2 separate regions of the Homo sapiens genome follow, and region 2 is linked to region 1. The links are contacts of gene promoters, found by promoter capture Hi-C in blood cells and fetal thymus (Javierre and others, 2016). All regions are on one chromosome and are shown on one strand. Each heading gives the region's core, a stretch centred on a gene start or on the middle of the fragment in contact. The rest is flanking DNA. Distances are from core to core; before and after follow the strand shown. Region 1 holds the start of C21orf91-OT1 (C21orf91 overlapping transcript 1). Region 2 has its middle 50 kb from the start of LINC01549.

The links. The method cuts DNA at HindIII sites, captures the fragments that hold promoters and counts their contacts. A CHiCAGO score of 5 or more calls a contact.
Region 2: a contact is called between a fragment that was not itself captured here and the fragment with the promoter of C21orf91-OT1 in region 1, in 1 of 17 cell types (M0 macrophages). The highest score is 6.4, in M0 macrophages.

What each region holds. Positions count from the first base shown.
Region 1 is chr21:17,788,896-17,793,758 of GRCh38, reverse strand. It overlaps C21orf91-OT1 (C21orf91 overlapping transcript 1), which reads left to right and starts at 1,250. Exons shown (of 4, transcript NR_038871.1): 1 at 1,250-1,282. C21orf91 (chromosome 21 open reading frame 91) reads left to right here. Exons shown (of 5, transcript NM_001100420.2): 5 at 178-4,785. The coding sequence ends at 344. All of the region lies in intron 2 of LOC124900465 (a long non-coding RNA gene), which reads right to left. The HindIII fragment of the contact is 3,892 bases long and covers 1-3,459 here.
Region 2 is chr21:17,386,381-17,391,243 of GRCh38, reverse strand. No RefSeq gene overlaps it. Among named protein-coding and RNA genes, the nearest start is that of LINC01549, 50 kb to the left of the region's middle. The HindIII fragment of the contact is 675 bases long and covers 1,532-2,206 here.

The DNA.
Region 1 (4,863 bases), core at 1-2,500:
GCCTAGGATGATCAGAACTGATATGCTTTGTAGAGAACAGAACTGTTTCCTTGGTATCAAATCAGTTTCATTGTGACACTTTGCCCAATGCATAGATTTCAGTTAGAGTTCTTGAAATATAAATCATAGCACCGGCTTTCTGCATACTAAAAATGAAAGTTTTTAAATCTTTTACAGAAGTTTTTGAAGAGTTAACTCACCAAGTGCAAGAAAAAGATTCTTTGGCCTCACAGCTCCATGTCCGCCACGTTGCCATCGAACAGCTTCTGAAGAACTGTTCTAAGTTACCATGTCTGCAAGTAGGGCGAACAGGAATGAAGTCGCACCTACCCATAAACAACTGACCTAAACAGACTTACTTCGTATGCCCTGCCCTTTATTGGTCTCCCAGACATGCAAACTTTGAAGAAGTTTGAAGAAAGTTGTGGTCCGTTTTTTTATGGTCATTAAATTTGCCAAACATAAGGCAGTATTTAACATCTTTGTCAAATAAAGCAGATCATTATACTCTAGTCTTCTAGGGCTAATCATTTTGGCTCATTTGGGGACTCTTTTTTCCCAGAATTACTAAACAAATTTTATCACATGTGACTACTTAAATATACTGTTACAGTGTCATTTTATTAAACATTTTAATTCACCTGTCAAAACAACAGATTAACTCCTTAGTGTAAACTACTAGAGATAATTTTTAAGAGGGAAATGGAATTCATATCACCTCTTATTTATTATGAGCAATATTTTAATATAAAAATTTTATATGTGAAAATGCTATTTTAGGTACTTTGCCATTCTCTTTATAAATGTGTATTTGAGTGGTTCTGTATATTTATTTACATTATCATGTGTGAATATGTTCACCCATATTTCAGGTCACTGCATTTTATTCTCTTAATACAATGTTTTCACAACGGTTACCTTGCTTTCCAAAGATAAATATATTTTGGATTAGAAATCTGAGTTGTTTTAATTTCTAATACCTCTTGTAAAAGAAGAATTAATAACTTTTTAAAGCAGTATTCAGGTAAATACAATACATTATTTTGTTTTCTAACAAAAGCAGTTCTTAGTTCAGGAAGAAAAGACTAATCTGGCTTCTATGTCAATTTGTCTCCATAGAAATGAAAGCCTCCTCTTGCTTCTTTCATTATTAGCTTCACACCAGTGACTGTGATGCATTAGAATTTGGACAGAGTAAGTCAAGCCTCACTTCCAATTCAAATATAATGTCTATCTTCAAATTGAGTGTGCTGTGAAATTGTTCTGTCTTTGAAAAAAAAAAGTAAGATTATTTTGTGTGCCACTTTGGGTAAAGTTTCAAGAATACTTAAACTGTCCAAATTGTATTATCACCATCATTGAACTTAGTGCTCAAAGAAAGCATTGTGAGGTATTTTTCTAAACTTTAGACTCTATAGAGAAATATAGGATTGTTCTACAGAAGAAAAGCAAAACTCCTAATTAAAAAAAAATAAACCTATGTATTAAGAGAATGTTCTCGTAAGTTGCCTATGATGCTTCCAAAGAGTTTTTATCTAACAGATTGTGCCAAACAGCTAGATAAATTTTAATAATGTATTACAGTAAAGGCTATAACCAATGCAGAATTAAAATGGGCTCTAAATTCTGTTTTTAACTCATGTTTAGAATGTACTTATGAGGTAGATCCTTGCTTGAAAGTATCTGCTGAAAAGCCCAGTAACGTGGCAGCTTCATGCATAAAGATATAAATGACATTTGCCTTAAATTTGGCAGCCTACCCTGGCTTGGGTCAGATTTTGTTGTTGAACACAAGAAAGTATTTAAGCAAAGAAACACTTCAGTTTAATTGAAAACAACTTTTTGTAATGCTGACGTGTTAAATTGGCCTGAGGGTATTAATTGATATCTGTTGATTTTGTTTTTCTTTGAAGTATAACATTACTTTTTGGAGGGAATTTTTGAAAGATGCTTTCGATTTCTCTCAATTCTTTAAGTCATGCAAAATGAATTTAAAATCCAGGGAGTATGGATGCATTGCCTTAGTTTTGATGAGCTTTAAATTAAATGTGTGCAATATCAAAATATTCAAACTTACAAGCTGGGTAAATACATTTCCTGATTAATATCTTAGTGCTTAATTGTTCCCACATTTTCAAATTTGACTTTACTCTTTTTTGGCGTAATTCAGTAAGATTGTTACCAGCCAGTGTGTTTGCACACATTTGGGTTTGTGTTTAGATGAGTTAGGGACAGTCATAAAAGTTGGGGATATGTTGCATTTGATATCAATAGTAGCATATTTCCAGAATATGAGCCATAAGTTGCAGTCCTGAATACAACAGTGTTATCCAAAGAAAGGAGTTTTCTGACAAATATACATAGCTTTGCTAATGAGTACGGAACAAGTGGATGAACGTGTGCATGTGCTAAGGTCTTAAGTGGGACTCTGATTTATTCCATTTAGATATTTCTACTTAAGCTCTAAAAAGGAGAGGTGCTCTTAAAAAAAACTTTGTGGTGCTGGTACTCACACTACTTTATTTGGATGAGTTCCTAGTAAAAAAAACTTTTTGTTGAAGTATTTTGCACAGCAGTTTATCCAAATGTTTGGTAAACTTATAATTTAGTCCTATGTTAGTTTTCTTAATCAAATATGCAATTACTGTGTATGCAAATATAAGTATCAGGTACAGAGTTGAGTTCTAACAAGAGAACATGAAATATCACAAATATTGTTTTCCACACTTGGCTATTCTCTACAGTTGTTAGTAATTTTTGAGAATGTTTTGAAGCATATCTCATGTACTACTGTTTAAAAAGTGGCAAAACAGACTGCCAGTCATCCATTACTAAATTTTCAGAGCTTATATGATTAAGGGGAGTGAGATAAGACAAATCTTTTTCACGTTCAGTTTTATAATTTGACACGTTAAATTGAGTTTTAAAAATTAGAAAAGTGTTTTTGACCACACAGGTTGTTCTCTTTAAAGTTCAGCCTTATAATGAAGCTAAAAATCAATTATGTTTTACTTTGAGATTATCATCTTATCCTTTGATCCTCATATTAATATCTAAATTAGTCTTTTTTAAAAGGCATGCACTTGAGACTCCAGTAATAGATGATTCAGGCAGCAGAATAGTGTTTTGTTGTGTCGTTGACTATGCACAATGGTGGAGCAAAGACACATTCTTAGTTTTTCAAAACACATGTTCATTTTACCACAAAGTGCCCATTTTTATATACATTTAAGGATTATTTTTTCAATGTCAAGTTCATGTTAGTGATTTCAGAAATATAGTCAAAATATATAGTCAAATATATCTTGACAGGCATCTTGAGATTTGGTTTTTCATTTTACTATATTTATGACTGAAAATGGTTTTGTGTTTTCTTTATGTTGTTTATATATTTTTTACCTTAGTGTTTACACTGGTAAGGCTTGTTAGTCCATTTTTGTAGTTTTTTTAAAGTAAGCTTTTAGATCTATTTGTGTTTTAATGTTTCCCAGTTTGGGTTTTGTTTTGTTTTGGAAGAATCTGCTTTCATTATTAAATTATAAAATGTAAATGCTCTAAAGTAGGAATTTTTAAAGAGTAAATTATTTGTGTAGCTTATTAGGAGGTTCAGGTTAGTGACCATAAAGTGGGTTACTTGTACATGAAAATTTGAAATGGTACCATGTAAAATTCTTCTATTGTCAACTTTTTCTGATGTATGCCAGTTCATTTACTGACAAATGTTGTTACTAAGTGCTTATTAAGAAGTGTAATACGCTATAAAAAAGTTAATACTTTTTGTTCAGATGTAAGGCAAAGATAATTGATGCCGTTTCAGTGTATGATTGTATTTTTAACTTTTACGTTGGTGGGAGTAACTATTTGAGGAAATTTGTGGTGAGAATTAGTAAGAGATAAAACCCCCAACAGTTTATTCTTACCAAGTAAAGTTTTGTGGTCATGGGGCAGGGAAGAGTTTATTTACCAGAATACTAGAGCCCTCACACAAAATAAAGGTAACTTGGAGGAGGGCTATAATGCTTGCATCTCAGTATTTTCATTTCACTTCATCCTTTCATAATTGCCTTGATTATGGTGCAGTCTAACCTATTAAGCAACTTCTGGCTATGGTAACATTGATATGAACCATATTATATCAAGTCTCCAAAACATCTAGTTTGTTAACATACACTTTCCCTGTTCTTTTTAGTTTGAGTCCACATTACTAATACATTTTAATAATATTTAATTATTTCACAATTTTAAGTTTACCAAAGTAAACAAAAATTCATGAAGATGAGTATTGCCCTCTCCCAAAAAAGGTTTAAAGATTAGTTGAACTTCCCTCAACTACACCTAAAGCAAAGGGGAATTTTAGTAAGTGTGTGTACCTTGTTTCTTTCAGACGCATCTAGAATGTTTTTCTTTCACCGTACCTCCAAAAGAGGCAATTTAGAAAGTATTAAGTAGTGACTTTTGTTCAGTTCCATTTTGTGTGTGTGTGTGTGTGTGTGTGTGTGTGTGTGAACCTTGCTTTAAAACAGTAGCGTATACTATGGTCATTGAACTTAATCTCTCTGGTGTTAGAAATTTACTTTACAAAATTGTGTTAAGACTTTTGGAAAAAGAAAATGAAACTGCTGTGGTAAAAACCAAGTTTGTTTCAAAAAAGTAGGCAATTATTTGGCTGTTATATTTTCTTTGAAAACTGCAATAATTTATATATTTGTATTGCTCTGCTTGGGAACTGTATATATGCTTGTCTACTATTTTTAATTTTACAACAATAAAATAAGTATTTTGTTATCTGCTAGCTTGAGTGGATGCTTTGAAAAGTAGCTATATTTTTTTAAATAGTGGGTCTATATGGTTTTGCTTTGCAGG
Region 2 (4,863 bases), core at 620-3,119, 400 kb after region 1:
TCATGCCTCAGCCTCCTGAGTAGCTGGGACTACAGGCACGCCCCACCACACCCAGCTAGTTTTTTTGTATTTTTAGTAGAGATGGGGTTTCACCGTGTTGGCCAGGATGGTCTCGATCACTTGAGCTCGTGATCCGCCCGCCTTAGCCTCCCAAAGTTCTGGGATTACAGGCATGAGCCACTGCACCAGGCCGCTTTTACTCTTTAAAAATGGTTAAGGACATCAAAGGCAGAATTATTGTTTTAAGCTGAATGAATATGATGAGACATAAGAACTACATGCAACATATATTCCTTGGAACAATCCTGAACCAGAAAGGAAAAAGAGAGAGTTTTGGACAGTTGGCAAAATTTGAATGGGAGAGTTTTCTTGTTTTGGGGAAATACACACTGGATTATTTAGGGATAATGGGACATCGTGTCTGAAGCTTTCTCTTAAAAAGTTCAGAGTATGACTAATGATAATGGATCACTTCCTCTCCCTACATATACACAGAGAGACGGGGTTGGTGTCCATGCATATTCAGAAAAATGTTAATGTTTGGACAATCTGAATGAAAGGGATACAAGAATTCTTTGTTCTGATCTGAAAGTTTTTATGTAAGTTATTTTAAAATAAATTATTTTTTATAAAGAGTGGCAGTAAATCCTGATTAGAAGTTCCATATTCAGGCAGGGCGCGGTGGCTCACTCCTGTAATCCCAGCACTTTGGGAGGCCGAGGTGGGCGGATCACGAGGTCAGGAGATCGAGACCATCCTGGCTAACATGGTGAAACCCTGTCTCTACTAAAAATACAAAAAATTAGCTGGGCTTGGTGGCGGGCACCTGTAGTCTCAGCTACTGGGGAGGCTGAGGCAGGAGAATGGCGTGAACCCGGGAGGCGGAGCTTGCAGTGAGCTGAGATTGCGCCACTGCACACCAGCCTGGGAGACAGAGTGAGACTCCATCAAAAAAAAAAAAAAAAAAAAAAAAAAAAGAAGTCCCATGTTCCTGTGAAGCTTATCAAGTGTGTCAGGTTTTACTGTAGAGAGCTCAGGCAGGAGCTGGCTGTCTTGGGGGATTCTTGGCTGTCGGTATTCATAGGGCTAGACAGTTTCCCTAAAGGACATTTTCATTATCTCCTATGATGGAGTATAAGTCTAACAGTCATTGTTCTGAGGGCCTACTACCAGAAGGGAACTAGAAATCTCACTCTTCTGAAAATAGACTGATTGAACATCTATGTTATCCAATGAACGTCTATGTTATTAATAAGAAACCTACCATCTTTTGTGACATGTAGTCACCTGCCTGCATGGACGGTGGGAGGAGACTGAAGAGTCTGTTACCTCCTTTTTCAGACTTTTAACAAATTCTTCTGTTTTCAGCCCTACTTGCAAACTTAACACCTTCAGAGGCCCCTGGTTCCTCTATTGATAGAAGTTTTCTGAGTTCATGAATCAACTTTCTTCTAGTTGTTTTTTTCTTTTTCAGGTACTCAGCAGAGCAGAGATATATGAGTCCAAAGCCATTTACCAAAGGTTATAAGCTTTTCATTTTGTGTACAATAATCATCTTTTTTTGGTGTACAGTAATCATCTTCTATAATCACCTTTTCTGTTCTCCTCATTTTTGTGGAATTATGCCCTTTCACATCATTTTTGTTATTTTAGTGGGGTTTCAGGAAGGAGTAAGAGAAATGTGTGTGTGTGTTTCCTATCACTTGCAATTAACAGGAAGATCTTTCATTACCTGAGCTTGTTTTTTATCGAAGATTAACTCCCTATGGGTCAGGAAGTAGACATACTGTGTAATCATTTGGCACAGACTCCAGGCTAACACTAAAATATTATTATATTGGGAAATGAGAATAAAGAGAACATTTTTTAATATAAAAAGGAAATGATTATTTCTTGGATGATAATTTTTTTTCAAACTGAACCTTTGATTTGTATTTTTTTATTCTTGGATTACTTTTTCTTCATAGTCCATCCATTGTTCAATTAAAATGGGCAAAGGAAAGAGGTCCAGCCCTTAGAATATTTTTATATTAAATAAATACTTATAAAGTAATAAAATTTTCATTTTGTTTCCATACTATGAATAGAAATAGCCTCCTTTATAATATCCCCAGAGTATGAATAATAGAGAAATTATTGATGTATTTAGAAAGACTTCTTTAAACATACTCTACATTTTTATCTCTGAGAAAAAGATAATTAAGCTTATGATTCCCAAATTGTGCACTGAGGCACCCCAAGAAGTTGCAGTGACCTCACAGGGGCCACACGACATATTGAAAATTCTCAAGAAAAACACAGAAACATTTGTTGGCTGCTGCATGAACTACTGGCTCAAAATACCTTATAATTTAAACCTTAGATTGTGCTGTAATGCTTTTCTAAAAGACATATCTTTGGAAGCTGGGTTTTCAGAAGTTGCTGTGATAAAAAATAGATACTATATGACAATTAACATGGAACGGGAAATAAGGGTGGTGGTGGTGAATTTGGTTCTAAAGGTTGGGTGTCTAGTGCCCAATAGGTGCATGTACCTCACTGGTAACTGTGATGGTGTTAAAATGTATCCAAAATTCTTTAACAATCTTCCCTTTAATGGATGAATCCTAATTCCTTTCCCTTTGAATATGGGCTGGACTTAGTAACTAGCTTTTGAAAACTAGAATGTGGCAGAAGGGCAAGTGTGAGACTCAGAAGTCTAGATCATACAAGGCGTTTCATCTTCCTCTTTGCTTTTTCCTGTTGATCACTCAGTTTTGGGGAAGCCAGCTGCTTCACGGCTTGAGCATGTGAAGATGCTCAAGCAGCCCTGTGGGTGTGCCATGTGGAGAGGAAATGAGCTCTTTTGCAAAAAGCCAGCAGGGAGCTGATGCCACTGGCCAATAGCCATGGGAATGAACCATCTTAGAAGTGGGTCCTCCAGCCTCAGGTAACCTTTCTGGTGACTGCATCCCCGGCCACCATCATGAAGGCAACCTCATTAGGGATCCTGAGCGACAGCCATCCAGATAAGCTCCTCTGGCATCCCTGACCCACAGAAACTATGAGATAATAACGACTTGTTGTTTAAGCCACTAAATGTTGGGGGTAATTTGTTATGAAGCAATGGGTAACTAATATAGTCAGTGTGAGATAATGAAATAGGCCAGGAACAGTGGCTCATGCCTGTAATCCCATCACTTTAGGAGGCCAAGATGGGAGGACGGCTTGAGCCCAGGAGTTTGAGACCAACTTGGGCAACATAATGAGACATTGTCTCTACAATTAAAAAAAAAAAAAATTAGCAGGGAGTGGTGGTGTGCACCTGTAGTCCCAGCTACTTGGGAGGCTGAAGTGGGAGGGTCACTTGAGCCCAGTAGGTCGAGGCTGCAGTGAGCTTGGGTCACTGGAGCCTAGGTCCAGCCTGGGTGACACAGTGAGACCCTGTCTCAAAAAAAAAAATTTTTTTTCCCATTTGTTTATGTGTGTAATTTTTTCAAACAGCGAGTAAGTTGTTAGAATGTAAATACTTCTTAAGTTGCATAAACCTAACTATGTAATAAACAGAACTTTTTTTTTTTTGGAGCATGCGAAAAAAGTTACTGAGACACTAACTGTGCCATACACTGACAAAATTTGGGTACCTCATCAGTAATTAAGTTAAAGATAGTTGCTAAATGTTTTTTCTCTTAATTTTTTAGGAATATACAATAATTCTCATCTATTTTTTGAATGTAGAAACTTATTACGTTTTGACATTGAAACTTTTTTTTTCTTAGTATGTCAGTGGGGAGAAGAATACATTTCAAATTAACCACCATCGAGGAAAGTTATAATTTTCTAGTATTCAATAAACATGAACGAAATCATTGGCTTATAGAGATGAAATATGTGAGGAGTAATATAACATTTAAGAATAAAGTAACTCGCACATACAGTGAAGAATGGAAATACCAGCTTATGGATACAGTAATATGTGAAGGCAGTAGGTGCCATTTCAAAGCAGCAGTTGGTTTACTAAAAATAAAAAGAGGCCAAGCGCCCTCTAGTGGTAGCTGTTGATATAATTTAATAGCAGAAAAAAACTAACACAAAGTGCCTTCCTTTACCTTGAGACAGTGTTTAAAAGGTACTTGTTCTTTACTTTATCAATACTATTAAACCCTTCGCTATGGCTTTGTTTTTGAAGTTTTTTTGAATGAAAGAACGCCACCAATGACTTTTAATGCCAAATTCAGCAGCATTGGGTAGTTTTTTTTTTCATATAGGAGAAACAAAACCTTTCCATATTACATTAAAAAAAGCTCAATGAAGCATAACATTTTCTCAAAGCAGATTGCATCAGCGCCATGCAAGCAACTTAAAAACATAAGGTGGCCCTTATTTAGTGAATTACATTGACTGTAATGCAGCATCTTCCAACTTTCTTGTCCATCTCATAAACAAATATTTAAAACACAAACAGTGCAAAACACTGCACTGTGAGGAGGGGTTGAAGAGAGGCAAGGAGGCTTTCAGAAAAGTGAACCAGTGTGGTGTGGTTCAGAGAATAATGATGGGGGTTGGGGATTAGGATGCTGTGGGAACCTTCACAAAGCCTCTTACTTGATCCCAAGGGAACAGGTAAGGCCTCCAGGAGGAAGAAGCATATCAAGGTTGGGCTGTAGAGCTGAACTGGTAAAGTTGCTTTGCTGTCTTAATTTATCCTAGCTTCCTAAAATGAACGCTCTAATAAACTGTCGCTTGGACTAAAAATAAATTGCTGTAACAAAAGGATAACGACCATGCTTTGCAAATTTGCTAATTACTATTTGTTCTTGTAGTAAGGATTCTCTTTTTGTCTCAGAGGACTGTGACATTATTGCCTCTCAAAACAATGAATCA